Linked DNA regions of Homo sapiens: region 1 is linked to region 2. Evidence: promoter capture Hi-C in 16 types of primary human blood cells and fetal thymus (Javierre and others, 2016). All regions are on one chromosome and are shown on one strand. The core of a region is centred on a gene start or on the middle of the fragment in contact, and the rest is flanking DNA. Distances in the headings are between cores, read along the strand shown.

Region 1 (2,700 bases), core at 81-2,580, 110 kb before region 2:
TGTGGGGGTATTTAGGTAAGGTGAAACTTACAAGGTGGGGATGAAACTGGTAAACAAAGTCCTTATTAAATCCATAGTGAAACATAATGCAATTTGGAATAAACATGACAAAGGCATTGTATCAATAAAATAGTAAAGAAATATTTTATTTACCTAAGGTGTTAGTATACCATTAAAATTAGGGAAGGAAGAAAATTTTGTACATGGGCATAGCTTCAAAAATTCTGAAGGGTATTTCTGGGTATTTAGATAGGACTTTTAAGATTGAGGCCTGTGCGGTTTTTTAATGGGTCTAAAATTAAGACAATTCATGTCCTTTCCTTGATAGTATTTGCACAAATCATCATTACCAGTCACGACTGTGGTCAGATGCTGACTCCCAAGTAAGTCGAAGAGGGAGGCAAACAGAAGGAAAAGAGAAATCTTCCTGAGATATCTGGGTAAGACATGAAGAGGACAGAGAATTGAGGTTAAGGATTTGCGTATATGTACCTAATAAGATACAAGTGATTTCATTCACCAGAAATCTGGGGCGGGGCGGGGAATATGTATCTATATATGGTAGACTTTTCTGGGAATGAGACGTGAGACCTCCCCCTTAAGAACATGGTCAGGTACAACAGGTCACTAAATTGCCTCCTAATGTTCAAATGAATGAATGGTGAACTAGAGGAAGTTTTGCTGAGCAGGAATGGGTTTAAGAGGGTAATTGAGCTAGGGCCAGGGGAGGCGAGGTGATGGATTGGATATCTAGTAGGCAAAAAGAAGTTGAGGTGACTGAGCCTTGAGAGGGGAGGACAAGAGGAAAACCTTCATTGGTTTGGCCAGTAAGGTACTTCTGAGAACAAAATGTCTAATAGGATGCACAATGTGAACTCTTCTCCTTTGCTTACACACTATCTTCAGTGAAGTCCATATTGCTCAGGGGTGTTTGTGTGCATAGATTGTTTAGGAGAAGCTTGAAGGGGTGCCAAATTCTCTGTCAGGGCTGACAAGAGGTAAATGTGGAAATAAAATATGCAAACACGGGAATCAGGCATGGAAGGGATAGGTGAGATCCAGGTTTCATGTGAGAAAGATACGGTCTGGGCACAATTCAATTTGTGCTCCAGCAATGAAAAAGGAATAAGACGGCGCACTTCACTTGTAATCAACCTAAGGGAAGAAGTAAATCAAACAACTTCCCTTACTAAGAGTGTGACTGCTAGAGGCAGAGGTATCTGGAAGGATGTGGAAACTCTGCAATCATCTATTTGTACAACCCTTTTCTCAAGCCAAGGATATAAACCTGGGAAGACACCTATATTGGAGTACAGAATAAACCCATTTGGTGAATTTTTTTTGGCTGTGATCAGTTCTGTTACCAAGGACATGATTTAAATTTGTTATATTCAAATCTACATAGAAATCAGTAATAGAAACTGTGCAAAGGGTTTCAGATAAGGCAGTAATGAATCTGCCTACCTGCGGCATAGCACAGTGGTTAAGAGCATCAACCAGGTTTGGAGTCTTGGCTGTCGCTCTTACTAGCTGTGGAATCATGGGTCAATTACTTAACACTGCCCCTTCTTATCTTTTAAATTGGGGTAAGAATACCCACATCATTGATGGTTGCACCACTATGTAAATTAAAAATCATTCAACTGAACACTTAAAACAGGTGAATTTTATAGTACGTAAATTATACCTTCATAAAGCTTTAAAAAAATGAGTACCCACATCATAGAAATGATGTGAAAATTAAAATGTAAACTGGCACTCTGCCTGTCAGGTAGTAAACACTCAATAAATATTAGTGACTAATATTAGTGTAACAAAGATGAGGTTAAAGAATAATAAAGATATATAAAGTTAAATTTTTAAAGAATTAAGGAATTATCGGGCTGGTTGAAACTTTTGAGATCACTTAGTTCAACTCTTTCATTTTACAGAGGAGAAAATTGGAGACCAGCAGGTGAAGTGCCTTGTTCAAGGTCTAGCGCTAAGACCAGCCCCCAGGCCTGTTGGGCCCCCATTAGTGCAATTCCCACTGTCACCCACGGCCTCAGAAACATGGACACATGGAAAATGTAGGCTGTTTCCTTGGAGAAGAAATAAATACAGAACACAAAAAACATGCAGACATAGCGAAGAAAGAATTTCAAGGCCGGGCATGGTAGCTCACACCTGTAATCTCAATACTTTGGGAAGTTGAGGCAAAAAGATTGCTGGAGCCCAGGCATTCAAGACCAGCCTGGGCAACATAGCAAGACTTTATCTCTATTTTTTTAAAGTTATTCAAGAAAAAAGAATTTCAAGGCCAAGGGGCAAAACCAAGAAGAGGCTACGACATCCTGACTTAGCCAGGGCCTCCAGTGCGGTCCAGGTCATGAGAACTTAAGTGCTTTGGCAAGGCCAGACCCTGGTTTGTCATCAGGTGAACTGACTCATCACTGTAGCCAGGTGCCCGGAGGAGGTGAAGCCACAGTCCTGTCTGCTACTTACTGTCACAATATCTGTCAGCAGTGGCAGGAGATGGGGCTAAAAATATATGCAGCAGAATTCTTAGGAGCAGTCAGTCTGAGCACCCCTGAAGTGTGGACAGCTCCTGAAGAGCTGCTTCTGCCCATGCCGAGCAGTGTGACCTCAATTGTTTATCCCCTGGTGTTGCCTAATCGGCCCCTCTGGATTCTAAGGCCTTCACTTATAATCCCGTTGTAA
Region 2 (2,700 bases), core at 98-2,597:
GAACAGAAAGGTGAAGAATGGAGAGACAGGAAGCCTGGCCTCCAGGCACTTCTCTCCTCAGCCTAAAGTCTCCACAGACTGAAGAAGGCCCAGTGGGGCAGCTCTGGGGCTGCATCTGAGCCAGTGGTGCTTGGCGAAGAGGGCTGTGGATTCCCCAGCACCAATGAATACCCTGATCTGGAAGAGGAGAGAGCAACCTATCCACAGGAAGAGGACCGTTTTCTCACTCCTGGCAGGGCCCAGGTATTGTTGGAGTGGAACTGGGTGGAGTGAGGGAGTGATGTGGGTCTCTGGTCTTGCATGGAGATGCAGAAGCTGAGAGCCAGGCTGGAGAGCTGGATTTGAGAGAAACAAAAATAACGTAGGTGAGAACCAGAGACTTCGAGGTACCTAAGCTTGGGTACTAGGAAATCTGGAAAGAAGACCTACTTTTCCATTTTCTTTTTCAATTTCTCTCATCTTGACAGCTGCTTTGGTCTCCCTGGAGCCCCCTGGATCAGGAGGAGGCTTGTGCCTCCAGGCAGCTGCACTCTCTGGCCTCGTTCAGCACTGTCACAGCCAGAAGGAACCCCCTTCACAATCCCTGGGGGATGGAGTTGGCAGCGTCTGAAGAGTAAGGAGAAACCACCGATGCCGAGAGGCTAGTGGTGCCCCAGGGACCCAAGACTAGTTCCGTCACTAGAGTCACCCTCATTGCTGACATGAAGGCGTTTCCCCTTCCTTCGTCTCTCCAACTGCCTTTCCCATCCTCTGAACTAGGCATTAACAGCCCCCGTGGGCTCCCATCTCAACCCACCGCTCTCACAGGAGCACCCCAAGTCCTGTTTTCCTCCAGGCCCCGCTCCTGGCCTTGTATTCTCTCTGCTCTGTTATTAAAAAGCAAGCAAGTGGAGCCCGAGTTGTCTTTCTTCTTGGGATGCAGCGATGGAGAGGCCAATGGGGAAGGAGGGCTCCTTTCGCTTTCTCGAGGACCCAGCTACAATGAAGTCGGGCTGGGTCCCCAGACAAGGAGTCTTGTCCGAGGCGAGAAGGGTCCTGCTCCCAGTCCAGCGTTCCTCGCCCGGCCCCTCGGGTTCCAGCACTGGTGGGCTGCCCCCGCCCCGTTCTCTCGAACTGGGAGTCAGTCGGCCGAGCTTCCGCCTCCAGGACCCTGGAATCCTGCCCCTCAGTGCTGCTGCCCTTTTGGGGACTTCCCAGCAGTCTGTCCCTCGGCCTGGCTCAGAGCCCTAGAAGCCGAGTCCCTCTGCCCAGCGCCCCACCCAGAACTCCACGTGTGCTGACCCCAGGTTCCCTTCCTGACCCTCATCCCCTTAATTGGGAGGCCCCGCCCCGTGCGCAGTGACGTTAGACGCCGCTGTCAGCCGGCGCTGGGGGGGGTCGGTGTGGGGTAGAATGGCCGCTGCCGCCGTCACCCGCGGGACCCCGGGAGGTAAGAGCCAGGGCCTCTCGCCCGCCTCTCCGCCCCCGCGCCAGAGGGCGCAGCTCCTCCAGGTCCCGACGCGGAGCGCCGCGCCAGGGACCACCGTCCCTCTTCCCGGTTCGCCCTCACCTCCCGCTTCCGTCCTCCTCCCCCGCGCCAGGGGGCGCCGCTCACCGCAGGGCCCCACGGCGGACCAGCGCGTGCCGGGGACTGTCCCGGAGACCCCCGCACCCGGCACCTGCACTGTCCCTCGCCCACCGCGTGCCCGCGGACTCTGCTCCCGGCTTCTCCAGAACATCCCTCTATGCGGGCGGGACCCTCCCACCTCGGAGGTTCTCCTGGGACCACCACTCCGCCGGGGGGCCGCCCAGAGTGCCAAGCGTCCGATCCGGCGCCGCCCAAGTGCAGCCCAAGGACCCGCTCCCGCTCCGCACCCTGGCAGGCTGCCTAGCCAGGACTGCGCACCTGCGCCCTGGGGCGGAGTCCTTACCCCAACCCCAGCTTCACTGCACATAGCCGAGCCCGACGGGCCTCCTCCCATCTCCATCCTGGACACCTGGCGGAGCCCGTGCTGAGAGCCTCCGCCAGCTCCCATCTGTTCCCCGAGGAGGGCGGGGGGCTCAGGCTGGAGCCAGAGCGGTAGATGGGGTAGGCTAGGCCTGGAGGCCAGGGGAGGCAGAGGCGTTTGGGGAGAGGGAGCTACGTAGAGAGGGCTGTCAGCCGGAGGGTGGGTTGTCCTGAGGGTGGGAATCTGGGTGTCTGGCCCAGATTCTATCAGGTCCTAACCAACCTGGAGGAGAGAATAGGTTAGGTTCAGTTATCAGATCTGCCCTTCCCCTTGGAAAAATCAAACAGAGAAGGAACTCAGGGCGTGTCTTCTAAAGGCCTAGCTTCTACCGGAGGTAGAATCTCCTGCCCTGCCCCCAGGATCCAGGCTCTCTTGCCAAACCATCCTCCAAGGACCGGATGGCCTGAGTCCCAACCCCCAGGACCTGACCCAACCATAGCCCCAGTCTGTGCAAAAGCTCAAGGTTTAGGGCCTCTGAGGCCCAAGCCCTGCCAGTCTTCTCCCCGCTCCCCCACCCCAACCCATTTCTTCCTGCTCACTCTTCCTGTCCAGTCTGCTCACTCATATTGGCTCCGGGCACTGTGTGTTGTTCTCTCTTCTACTGTCACATCACAGTCAGCCCCTCCCTCCCTTTCCTCATCCTTCCCAGATACTATGACCCAGTTCTATACCCACTCCCTACCTCATACTTCTCATCCTGGATTAATGTGGG

What was found. Contacts are between HindIII fragments. The CHiCAGO score rates a contact against its expected background, and 5 or more counts as called.
Region 1: a fragment that was not itself captured here is called in contact with the fragment with the promoter of CAMTA2 in region 2 in 1 of 17 cell types (non-activated CD4 T cells); the score reaches 5.9 in non-activated CD4 T cells.

Annotation. Positions count from the first base shown.
Region 1 is chr17:5,093,796-5,096,495 of GRCh38, reverse strand. It overlaps ZFP3 (ZFP3 zinc finger protein), which reads right to left. Exons shown (of 2, transcript NM_153018.3): 2 at 122-2,700. Among named protein-coding and RNA genes, the nearest start is that of ZFP3, 17 kb to the right of the region's middle. The HindIII fragment of the contact is 739 bases long and covers 961-1,699 here.
Region 2 is chr17:4,986,322-4,989,021 of GRCh38, reverse strand. It overlaps CAMTA2 (calmodulin binding transcription activator 2), which reads left to right and starts at 1,347. Exons shown (of 23, transcript NM_015099.4): 1 at 1,347-1,429. INCA1 (inhibitor of CDK, cyclin A1 interacting protein 1) reads left to right here. Exons shown (of 7, transcript NM_001394789.1): 6 at 78-243; 7 at 468-892. The coding sequence ends at 617. It overlaps CAMTA2-AS1 (CAMTA2 antisense RNA 1), which reads right to left and starts at 1,278. Exons shown (of 3, transcript NR_187235.1): 1 at 797-1,278; 2 at 430-606; 3 at 1-335. RefSeq lists a silencer at 1,328-1,867. The HindIII fragment of the contact is 15,391 bases long and covers 398-2,700 here.